Regions from separate parts of the Homo sapiens genome. Here region 1 is linked to region 2. Evidence: promoter capture Hi-C in 16 types of primary human blood cells and fetal thymus (Javierre and others, 2016). All regions are on one chromosome and are shown on one strand. Each heading gives the region's core, a stretch centred on a gene start or on the middle of the fragment in contact. The rest is flanking DNA. Distances are from core to core; before and after follow the strand shown. Region 1 overlaps MYO3B (myosin IIIB). Region 2 holds the start of LINC01124 (long intergenic non-protein coding RNA 1124).

The links. The method cuts DNA at HindIII sites, captures the fragments that hold promoters and counts their contacts. A CHiCAGO score of 5 or more calls a contact.
Region 1: a fragment that was not itself captured here is called in contact with the fragment with the promoter of LINC01124 in region 2 in 1 of 17 cell types (non-activated CD4 T cells); the score reaches 5.8 in non-activated CD4 T cells.

Annotation. Positions count from the first base shown.
Region 1 is chr2:170,555,630-170,562,097 of GRCh38, forward strand. All of the region lies in intron 32 of MYO3B (myosin IIIB), which reads left to right. Among named protein-coding and RNA genes, the nearest start is that of LINC01124, 160 kb to the right of the region's middle. The HindIII fragment of the contact is 1,720 bases long and covers 4,322-6,041 here.
Region 2 is chr2:170,712,654-170,718,424 of GRCh38, forward strand. LINC01124 (long intergenic non-protein coding RNA 1124) reads right to left here and starts at 1,914. Exons shown (of 1, transcript NR_027433.1): 1 at 1-1,914. SP5 (Sp5 transcription factor) reads left to right here and starts at 2,684. Exons shown (of 2, transcript NM_001003845.3): 1 at 2,684-2,910; 2 at 3,606-5,425. The coding sequence starts at 2,860. The coding sequence ends at 4,751. The region is part of intron 5 of ERICH2-DT (ERICH2 divergent transcript); the gene reads right to left. RefSeq lists a silencer at 2,001-2,050 and enhancers at 2,268-3,057, 3,058-3,845, 3,846-4,635. The HindIII fragment of the contact is 7,273 bases long and covers 1-5,771 here.

The DNA of each region.
Region 1 (6,468 bases), core at 3,932-6,431, 150 kb before region 2:
GGGAGGCTGAGGTGGGAGGATTGCCTGAGGCCAAGAGTTTAAGACCAGCCTGGACAACACAGCAACACCCTGTCTCTACAAAAAATTTAAATATTAGCCAAGTGTTTTGGTGCATGTCTATATTCCTAGCTACATGGAAGGCTGAGGTAGAAAGATCACTTGAGCCCAGGAGGTCGAGGGTGCAGTGAGCTATGATGGTACCACTGCACTCCAGCCTAGGCAGTAGAGCAAGATCCTATCTCTAAAATAATAATAATAATATGCATTTAAGATTCCTCCATGTCGGCTGGGTGTGGTGGCTCATGCTTGTAATCCCAGCACTTTGGGAGGCCAAGACAGGTGGATCACTTGAGGTCAGGAGTTCTAGACCAGCCTGAGAAACATGACGAAACACTGTCTCTACTAAAAGTACAAAAATTAGCTGGGCGTAATAGCACACGCCTGTAATCCCAGCTACTCAGGAGGCTGAGGCAGGAGAATCACTTGAACCTGGGAGGCAGAGGTTGCAGTGAGCCGAGATCACGCCATTGAACTCCAGCCTGGGCAACAGACCAAGACTCTGTCTAGAAAAAAAAAAAAAGATTCCTTCATGTCTTGTCATGGCTTGATAGCTTAATATCTTGGTTGCTTCCAAGTTTGGACAATTATGAGTGAACCTACCATAAACATTTGTGTTCAGGTTTTGGTGTGGATGTAACTTTTTAATTCATTTGAGTTAATACCTAGGAGCATGATTACTGGATTGTGTGGTAAGAGTATGTTTAGCTTTGCAAGAAACTGCCAAACTGTCTTCCAAACTGGCTTTACCATTTTGCATTTCCTTCAGCAATGAGTGAGAGTTCCTGTTGCTCTGCATCATTGTCAGCCTTTGGGGTCGTCAGTATCTTGGATTTTTACTTTTTTTTTTTTGAGACAGAGTTTAGCTCTTGTTGCCCAAGCTGGAGTACAATGGCACGATCTTGGCTCACTGCAACTTCTGCCTCCCGGACTCAAGTGATTCTCCTGCCTCAGCTTCCCAAGTAGCTGGGATTACAGGCATGTGTCACCACGTCTGGCTAATTTTTTGTATTTCAGTAGAAACGGGGTTTCACCATGTTAGCCAGGCTGGTCTCGAACTCCTGACCTCAGGTGCTCCACCTGCCTTGGCCTCCCAAAGTGCTGGGATTACAGGCGTGAGCCACTGCACCTGGCCAGATTTTGACATTTTAATAGTTGTGTAGTCACATCTCATTATTTTAATTTGCAATTCACTGATAACATGATATTAAGCATCTTTTCACAGCTTATTTCTTTCACATGCTTATTTGACATCTGTGCGTCTTATTTGGTGAGGTATCTATTCAGATTTTTTGACCATTTTAAAATTGCATTGTTTGTTTTCCTATTCTTGAGTTTTAAGAGTTCTTTGTATATTTTGGATACAGTCCTACGTTAGATACGTGTTTTTTTTTGTTTTTCTTTCCAACTTTTCTTTTAGGTTCAAAGGGTATGTCTGCAGGGTTTTTTATTTTTATTTTTATTTTTTTTTGAGACGGAGTCTCGCTCTGTCGCCCAGGCTGGAGTGCAGTGGCACGATCTCGGCTCACTGCAAGCTCCGCCTCCTGGGTTCACGCCATTCTTCTGCCTCAGCTTCCGGAGTTGCTGGGACTACAGGCGCCCACCACCATGCCCAGCTAATTTCTTGTATTTTTAGTAGAGATGGGGTTTCACTGTGTTAGCCAGGATGGTCTCCATCTCCTGACCTCGTGATCCGCCCGCCTCTGCCTCCCAAAGTGCTATTTATGTTTGCTAAGTTACTAAAACTCCTGGAAAAACTAGAAAAACTCAGGTTGTCTGCTAAAACAGTATTTAGCAAGAGATCAGTTTGTTGGTTTAAATTTCAGAGAGGGCTGGGAGATAATAAAATATACCTTTATTCCTCATTCATTAGGATATTTGTCCAGCAGATGTTACTTGAGCACCCACTAAATGGCAGACACTATGTTTGATATAATACAGGGAGCAAGAGCCAGGCTTGCTCTTGTGAAATTTATATTCTGAGAGAGATGGACAAATAAATTTGAAAACAAGTCTGCTTTGACTAGGGTGTTGATAGGGGTGAGCACAGGAGCTGTGGGAGCTCCAACGGTGATATGTGGTCTCCAGGAAAGGTTCAGATAAGCTTACTCCAAAACTCAGACCTGCAGCGAAGAGTCAGAAAAGATGTTTCCAGCCGTCTGCCCATTCTTTTTCCACACGGGGAGAAGCTCACATGTGAGAGATACAAGATCAAGGTGGTTGTTTATTTTGTTTTGCACCCCCAGCCCCCATCCTTGGTTATTTTTGGTTTTGCCTTTTAAAAAATTCTGAAATGTAACATGCTTACAGAAAAAAAAAATTCTTAAAACGGAGGCCAGACACCGTGGCTCATGCCTGTAATCCCAACACTTTGGGAGACCAAGGCGGGCGGATCACAAGGTCAGGAGATCAAGACCATCCTGGCTAACACGGTGAAATCCCATCTCTACTACAAATACAAAAAATTAGCCGAGCATGGTGGCGGGCGCCTGTGGTCCCAGCTACTCAGGAGGCTGAGGCAGGAGAATGGTGTGAACCCGGGAGGCGGAGCTTGCGGTGAGCTGAGATCGTACCACTGTACTCCAGCCTGGTACAGACAGAGTGAGACTCTGTCTCCAAAAAAAAAAAAATGCTTAAAACGAAAATGGACAGTATAATAAATTATTATAATGCAAGCACCATGTGAGCACAACCGAGATCACAAAACAGTCCTTGCCAGTGCCACAGAAGCCATCAGCATGCCCTTTCAGGATTATGACTCTCTTCCTGCATCCTACAGGTAACCACCTAAATATGTGTCTCTAAATATTATAGCTTAATTTTGCCTGTTTTTAAACTTTGCACAGCTGGAACCACATAGCATATATTCTTTGACTTCTAGCTTTTTCTCTTTTTTCCCTTAACATTATATTTTAAAGATTCACTTGTATATTTTCGTTACTGTATAGTATCCCATTTTAGGATGAGAGCACACTTTATGCATTCATGTTTCTGTTGATGGGCATCTGGGTTGTTTCTAGTTTGGAACCCTTACAAAGAAGAGATGTTCATGGATGATGGTCCCATACCCTTGGCAGGGTGGCAAAGCTGGCTTTGGAGTCAGTCAAACTTAAATTTACATCCCATCTATGCCACTCTAATAGCTTTGTGACTTTGGTCAAGTTAACTTAATCTCCCTATATCCCTCTTTCCTCATCTCCAAAATAGGAATAGTAACAGTACCTACGTCATAGGGTATAGATGTAAGGTGCTTAACACACTACTTCACATGTAGTAAGCACTCAACAAAAATTTGGTGCTGCATGGAGTTATTCTTGTTACTCATAGGAATATTTCATTTTTATTTGAGGAAGTTTTCTACAGAGTTAATATGGCCTAACCTATCCAGATTTAAGATTGTAGAAGCTTTCAAGGTCTTTTGTTCAACTCTCATTTTATAGATGAAAAGACTGCATATTAGTTGGCCAACCCAGAGCTAGAACCCAACCCAGAGCTGGGCTTTAGGGAGACATAGAGTCAGTAGTACCTCTGGATCAGCATTCTGGCACAGGCTATTCTTAAGGGCTCATTGGATGGCCATTTTAGCTTCTTAAATGTATTCTCCTCTTTGTTCTTTAAATAAATGGGAAAATAGAAGCCTTAAGGGGTTGACCAGTTAGCTCTATATTTGGCTGTAGACTGTAAAGTCTATTACATTATATCCAAGTTGTTTGATTATTTATTCATTGGTCAGAATTTAGGGTTTCAAGGGCTCTATCCTAATTAGGCCAAAAGATCAGAGAGCAAAATAAGGCACATAAAGCCATGCCTGGGGGATTATTGGCATTAGGTAGAGGTGTTTTGTTTAGTTTGGACTGCAGTTGAATTTGGATTAAAAATACTTGCAATTTTTTAAAAAGAACAGATATATCTCTTATTAAACAAACTATAAATATAGTTTGGATAATGACGGGAGGGAGAAATTCAACATAAACTGGATATTAAATGAGTCTGTAATTTTTCTCCCTACCAAGAACAATTCACAATGACTTCCTGACCTCCCACTTTCAAATCATGCACTCTATCCTAGACTAGAGCTTTGCCTGAGCACTGCCCACCACCATCACCCCCACACTCACTCCTCCGGTCCCACATTGTCCCCTCTTTCCAGTGTTTTGCTGATATTTAAGGTTTTTATTACACTAAAATTCCCTGTTCTGTGATCTGTGTTCCTGGGTTCCTAAGAATGTGTGTGTGTTTGTCTGTGTGTGTGTGATGCTCTGGAAGCTTTGAGGGGATTCTGGGTCAGGACTTATCCAAAAATAAGACTCCAGATTATTAGCTTACTACATGTAGAATAATGCCTGGTACATAGTAAGCATCTAATAAAGTTTAGCTGCTGCTACTGCTATTTCTTACTCTTCCATTGCGAATCACTTTTGAAAGTACCTAATTTCCAAGTTTAGCAACTCCTTTCTTCTTTCCACTCAAATTATCAAGTCTTCTGGAGTGCGCTACAATTTCTAAAAAACTACACTTGTTTTCCCTCGATACTACCACAAGTCTCAAGAGTATATCACCTTGAATCTTTACTGCATTTGAGTGGGACCAATTTGTTGGTATTTTCTGTGTCTGGCAGTTTGTGTAATGGGAGGGAGTTGTTTCATTAATCCACCTAAATGGTTTCAGGAATATTTATAGCTCCCACAGACTCAGATCCCCAAGTCACCATCCAGAAAGGTCTGTTTGGCTGCTTAGCAGTGAGCAATTAGAACAGCCAGTCTACCCAGACACCAGGCTGGTTTGTCTGACCTAATATACGTGAAGACTCAGTGTTCCCAAAGGGATTCTTCCTTTTTAGAGGAAGAAATTAATGATATCCCTTTTTGTTAAATTGGTGCCAGTATTTTCCCTAAGCAGCCCATTTAAAAGAGCAAATTCAAACAGGGTCCAAGAAACAATTGCAAGAGATCTACAAAGATCTTAGGGGATGAGTTTACACACTATCCTAATTTCAAAGGAGCCGTTTTTATGCCAGGACACAATGGCTGGGTTCTCCCAATGGATACACACCCACTGTAAATGGCAAACTCTGCATTTGTGCAGAAATCAGATAAATGGAAAGAGCTCTAGATTTGTTTCTGCTCTTAACTGATTTGTCCTCCAAAGCACAGTTTCCATGCTAACTCATTAGCCTGGGTGAATGCTGGGGGTACCGACGGGGGACAGAACATCCAAGGATCCATTCTAAATCTCCGAGGGTCAGATTACAAAGTGTTCATTCCTTTTTTGTCCTTCACTGCTGTATTTACCCATGTCCAGAGCAGTCAGCTCACAACACACTTGTACTCTGCCTTCTGATTTTCAACTTGGGTTGCCATTAAGAAAGCAAGGTACCTCCCTTCTCTTGTGTGCTGCTTATTCTTTGCCCTAGACCCACATTCTCATATTCAGTCCATTAATGGAACCCCCATTCATGTCATGTAGCAGTTTCTATTTAACACTGGGAGGGCACTGGGAAACAGTCCATTATGTTGTCTCTCCCCTTAAAAGAAGAGTTAGAATGGATGCCTCCCTCTCATCTACCACCCTGAGCAAATTAACCCATATGACCAGAAGGGACAACCTGTGAATAACCACTGAATGATTAGAGGATTGAACATATACTGCATAAAGGTTTTACTTACTAGTTATCTGTACCCAGAGGATTCTAAACATTGCCCTTAGAGTGACAATCTTTTCTTCAGCAGTCTGACAAATGGTCATCCATGCTAATTTCCCACATTCTTTTGCACATCTTTTTACATCACAAGCCTCTGTGGGAGGCTAATGGAATCCATGCACCCTAACTCTAGAAAAATGCACAAATGTACACCGGCAACATTTTGCACATAAAATCCTTAATACCTTCATGTTCCCATCAGGATCTGTATCCCAGGTTAAGAATTCTTGTACTAATGAGAGGAATTGACTAATTGTAAAGACTATCAATTTTATGTTTGGGAAGCTTGATCGAAGGATTTTTCTTCCCATGTGGTAGTTCTTCAAGTATTTGTAGATTGCTCTTTTTTGGTTAGATGTCTCTTTGGGGGATATGTCTCTATAAATCATCAGATGACCCTCAAAAGTTATTTAAGAAAATTTTGTGCTATGATTAAAGTCTTTGGGCTAGAAGATGTACACGCAATACATAAAAAGAATAGACCTGTGGTTTCTCAAAAATGCCAAGGCAGGTTGCTATAGTCTTTTTCTTCTTCATTAAACAACAACAACAAAAAGTTGATTCCTTTAAAAAAAAACCTCAGAATTCTTGAAAAAAATAAAAACATTGAATCCTGTGTTTATTGCTCCATCATCTTAATTTGTTTTTGATTTAAAAAATTACTTGGCCATTGCTCAATTTTTCATATTTAATAGAAACAGAAGGAGAAT
Region 2 (5,771 bases), core at 664-3,163:
CACTCAAGAGAGGGCCTTCTGTACGCTCAGCACCGTCCTAAAGACCTTGCGTATATTAACTCTTAAACCTATAGCCACTCTACAAGGGGTGCACTATTGTAACTCCCATTTTACAAACCGCAAAACTGAGGTACACAGCGGCTGAGTACCTTGCTTGCCAAGGTCACCAACTAGAAAGTGGCAAGGCGGGAAAAATGTCTTCAGAGAGTTCGGACTCCGAGCTTTCAACCACCAAGCCACTAACTTTGACCCTGTTGGCCCACTGATGGTTTAACTGGCTAATGGGGGCATCTTGGAGAAAAAGCTAATTCCCATAACTATGGGGATGTGAAATGGCTTTTCTGGCCTTTTTGGGAAAGTAGCTATCAGATTCAATAAAAAGGGCTGCCTTCCATCCTGCTTAGCCCGGCCCTGCCCGCCTCCCTGGGAAAGGGGACTTCGAAGATCTCAAAGAAGCTGGAAAGGAAACCAGCGCTAAGGAACCAGATCGCTTCGAGGGTGCAAGCATGTGCAGGCGCGAGTGTGTGCCAAGGGGCTCCCTGGCCTCCGACTTGCATCCAGGGAAGAGCTCCCTCGAGTCTCACGCTTCTCCAAGACTCAAATCCTGGACGGGAGCGTGGGAAGGAGCAGGTTGGCCAGGCCTCGGATGAAACCACTAAGCTCTCTCCCCTTCTCCGCTCCCAGAGCAGCCGACCTCATCTTCAGAAGCCAGATCGGGTCGGCCAAGTTGTGTGGTCGCCGCTCGCGTTTTAGAGGGGACAACTCGTTGGGGGAGAAGGGGGCGTGCGAGTGCAGGATGTGCGAGGGACCCATTGTATTTGGGTCGCAAGCAGCCCACCCGTCTTGAGTACGATATTCTCATTCCGCAGGCGCGCCCTGGGCGTGGGAGAAGGTGGGCCCGGAGGCATCGCATCCCCGACCCCTGATGGAAGTGCGGAGGGCATCCTTATACAGTCCAGATTCCGAGTCCGTTGTAGTTAGGCTAACCTCTGACGCTGCATCGGGAGATAGGTCACCCCGTCCGTCCCGGTCGCAGTGCGGTTCCCGTGAGGAAGACGGGCAGAGAGGCCGGGCGCGAACTGATTAGGGGCTCCCCCACGGCCGGCGGCCTGGAGAGTGGAGACTGTGTCCGACGGGAGGTGGGTGGGGGAGAGGAGTAGGCCGAGCTCCGGCGGCCACTCCGCAGTGCGCTCTCGCGAGCCGGGGCCGCGAGGCCTCCAACGCGGTTCCGCACCCCTAATGCCCCAGGGCGGTGAGCACCCCGCGGTTCCCCGCCCGCCTCTTCCTCCTTCCCCGCCCGCGCGCCCGGGAGAGGCGATCCCCGCGTCCGCAGTGCCGGGGCAGGACGCGCCCTGCGCCCTGGGCCAGGAGGAGGCAGGTGGCCCTCCTCGGCAGGAGGTGAGCCGCCAGGGAGGGATGGGGGTCACCCAAGCCCCTGCAAGCGCGACCCTGCCCAGAGCAAAGCACGCCCCGCGCCTGGTGAGGAACTTTTTCTTTCCAAAGGTGGCAGGAACAAGTCTGTACTGACTTTTCTCCCGCCTTCGGGATCCTCTCTCGTATGATTTGTGGTTTGTGGGACCACAACAACCAGGCTTCCTCGACCGCGCCTTTTTTCCAGTAGCTCCTGGTCTGCCAGGCTTGCGAGAGGGCGCGCTGGCTTGGCGGGGCTCCGGGCGAGAAATCACCAGCAGCGCTGGGGCTTTCGGCCCCCCACAGCCCAGCCCGGGCCTCCTGGGTGGCCTGGGGAGAAGGGGGCGGGACAGCACAGCTTCTTCCCCTCGGGTGGGCATGACGGGTCGCCTTGGGTGTCCTGCCGAGCTCAGCTTTGAGGGTATGCGCGGCGCGGGTGTTTTTCCCAGGTCCACTCTGCAAAAGTTGTGGCCTGAGGAAAACTTCCAGGTCGCCAGCAGGAACGTCACAGGAGAGCCCCGGTCGCTCGTCAGGCGGGCGGCCCTGGAGCGTGCGCGCCACCCAACGCCGCGCTGGGCGGCCGCCCGGCCCCGCCCCAGGTCACAGCCCTGCCCTCGGCCCCACCGCGGCGGGCGGGGGACACGCGGCGGGCCGGGCGCTGTCGGTCCCACGCCCCACCGGGGATCTCGCTTGGGTCCGCTGTGTGCGCGGGCGGGTGCGTGTGCGGCGAGGGTGCAGGGTGTGCAAGTAAATACAGGGGAGAGTTACACTCTTTGCCGTCTCAAAGTCCGGCGCCTGGAAGCCGAAGGCAGATTTTTCCAGAGATAACAAAGACACTTTGTCACTTTGGGCGCTGCGTCGGTGCAAATCTTTAATTGCAAGTGTGTGTGTGTGTGTGTGTGTGTATGTTGGGGGGGGCGGGAAGAGTGTCTCGAGCAACCCAAGCGCGGGTCTCCAGGCGGCAAGGCCCCCTTTGATCAGGAAAATCCAATTATTTGTGTATATACATTTCCCACATAGTGATTACTTCATTAATTGTCCCGCCTTTATCTCCTCCCTTCCCATCCCCCCTAATAATCAGTTCTTTTATCCAGACCAACAAACACACCATAGGAGCTTTGTGGATTCAAAGGATTTGCTTTCGCTTCTGAAAGAGCCGCTATTCTTTGATGATTGGGTAGCGGCAAACTTCAAAGCCATAAATCTTCCCTCTGACTGGCTGGCGGCCCAGCAAAGTCCTTATCAAATTCTTGGAGGTGATCCTGAAGCGCTCAGACCGCGCGCGGGGCGAGCGAGCGGGGCGCGGCGAGGGGCAAGGGCGGGGAGGGCCCCGGCGCTCAGAGCAGGCGCCAGGGAGGCAGGCTGGGCGGCCCTTCGTCCTCGCCTTCGGGTGTCCATGCCTCGGCGGCGGCGTCCCGCTCCGCAGCCAGGGGCCTGCAAGCCGTAGCCATGGCCGCGGTGGCCGTCCTCCGGAACGACTCGCTGCAGGCCTTTCTCCAGGTCAGGGCCGAGCCCGGAGGGGGCGGGAGAAAGGTGGAAAGGGCCGTGTCCGGATCTCTCCTGGTACTCCGTGCACCTTGAACCTCAAAGGGAACCCCGCCGATGGGTGCAGCTGGAGCCAGGCCTAGGGGTGCCCACGCCAACTTCACACCTAATCCGGTGTGGCCTTTGCTGGAGGGACGCGTGGATCCGGGATTGTTCGGAGGTGCCCGGCTGGCCGAGAACAGGACCGGAGCTCACCCTGCTGGGCCCTCCTGCTGATTTCAGCCTGGGGCGGGCCAGGGAGGAGCGCGAAGGCAGTGAGGACAAGAGAGCTTAAAAGATGGGAGGGAGAGCGGCCGGCCGGCGGGGTTGTGGGTGTTTCCCGACTCTTACTGACCACGGAGCCGGGAGGGGCCCGTCGGATGCCTCCCCCTCCCACTTCGCGCCTGCTTCCTCTAAGGCTGGATGGCGTCTCAGTGCACCAAGTAGTTTAGCAAGAAGCGCTCGCGGGCCCCACGTTCAGGTAGCGCAGGCACCAAAAGTTTCCCTCGGCCGGTGGGTGCGTGCGTGGGGTGCGGTGGCGGGGGAGGGACGGCCGGGACGGAGGAGGGGCGGCGGTATAATAGCGGGCGTGGGGGCGGCGGGCTGGCCCGGAGTCCGCGCTTGGAGCTAACCTTTTGTCTCTTCTCCGCCCTCCCTCGCCGCCTATGCAGGACCGCACCCCCAGCGCCTCCCCGGACCTGGGCAAGCACTCGCCCCTGGCATTGCTGGCCGCCACCTGTAGCCGCATCGGCCAGCCGGGCGCGGCGGCGCCCCCGGACTTCCTGCAGGTGCCCTACGACCCCGCGCTGGGCTCACCCTCCAGGCTCTTCCACCCGTGGACCGCCGACATGCCGGCGCACTCGCCAGGCGCACTGCCGCCCCCGCATCCCAGCTTGGGGCTGACGCCGCAGAAGACGCACCTGCAGCCGTCCTTCGGGGCTGCGCACGAGCTTCCCCTTACACCCCCCGCCGACCCCTCGTACCCCTACGAGTTCTCGCCGGTCAAGATGCTGCCCTCGAGCATGGCGGCTCTGCCCGCCAGCTGCGCGCCCGCCTACGTGCCCTACGCGGCGCAGGCCGCGCTGCCGCCAGGCTACTCCAACCTGCTGCCTCCGCCGCCGCCACCGCCCCCGCCGCCCACCTGCCGCCAGTTGTCACCCAACCCGGCCCCCGACGACCTCCCGTGGTGGAGCATCCCGCAGGCGGGCGCCGGGCCGGGGGCCTCCGGGGTTCCGGGAAGCGGCCTCTCCGGCGCCTGTGCCGGGGCCCCCCACGCGCCCCGCTTCCCCGCCTCTGCGGCCGCTGCTGCTGCGGCCGCCGCCGCCCTACAAAGAGGCCTGGTGTTGGGCCCGTCGGACTTTGCGCAGTACCAGAGCCAGATCGCCGCGCTGCTGCAGACCAAGGCCCCCCTGGCGGCCACGGCCAGGAGGTGCCGCCGCTGCCGCTGTCCCAACTGCCAGGCGGCGGGCGGCGCCCCCGAGGCGGAGCCGGGGAAGAAGAAGCAGCACGTGTGCCACGTGCCGGGCTGCGGCAAGGTGTACGGGAAGACGTCGCACCTGAAGGCGCACCTGCGCTGGCACACGGGCGAGCGACCCTTCGTGTGCAACTGGCTCTTCTGCGGGAAGAGCTTCACGCGCTCGGACGAGCTGCAGCGGCACCTGCGGACTCACACGGGCGAGAAGCGCTTTGCCTGTCCCGAGTGCGGCAAGCGCTTCATGCGCAGCGACCACCTCGCGAAGCACGTCAAGACTCACCAGAATAAGAAGCTCAAAGTCGCTGAGGCCGGGGTTAAGCGGGAGGACGCGCGGGACCTGTGAGCCCTCCCGGAGGTGGACCCCCTTCCCAGCACCTCTGCGAGAGATCCGGGGACCTGTGGGCAGCTGGCGGAGGGGAGACTCAGCAGACGGACCCTCTCCGTTGCCTGCCTCCCAAAATGGAGCCAGGCTTCCAACTTCCGCTGCCTTCGGACATAGGGACCCAGTTCCCAGGAGCGGGGAGGTAGGGTTGGGGCTGGGGCATTTGGATTGTAATTGGGAGCTCTGCCGTACGCCAGGGCGGTTCCAAACTCTAAACCGTTCCCACCGTCAGGGAGACCTACAGTTTCGGGGGACCACCCTGGTCTGGCCTTGTATATAGGAAATGCTGCTGAACTGAATAGAAAGGAACTTGGGAGATTTGAAACAGTGCTCGGGTTTTCGCTAGGACCGGTTTGGGCTTTGTACAGGTTATTTAATAGCTTTGTTAAAGATAATTATAATAATTATAACATTAATAAAAATGTTGCTTTTGTCTTCAGCTCCATGCAGAGCTACAGCATGATATGTCTCTGTAAAGTGATCAGCAGTTGCAGCGTGAAAATAAATACTTTAACTCAGGGGTCACTACAGGAAGACCCCGTTGAGCCGGTCTCATTTGATCTTTTCTTCTTCTGGGTGGCTGTACTAAGCGGTCGGGTTTCCCCGGGAATTTGATGGTTCCTATAGTCTGCCTGTGTCGGAGGCTTCTTTGGTTTGGAAGGATCTGGGCAAATGTGTTGGGTTCAGGAATGGACAAAGGCAGGCAATTCCGTTTTGTGGTAAAGAGGTAGGGCAAGATTTTCCAATCACAATTTGAGTTTCTCATGCGGCCTTAGGATTCACCCGAGACTGTTTGTCTTCCAAGTTTGTTTTTACCTGACGAATTCCCTGTGGCTTTCTATTTGTTGGTACTCTCGGGACAGGTCACAACTATGCTGGTGTTAAGAGAGGTATTAGAGGCGCCAGGATCTGTTCACAGGTGAGACTTTGTGGAGAGGTACAGAGAAACGGGACCCTTGTTCAGGTTGGTCTTTGCCTGGG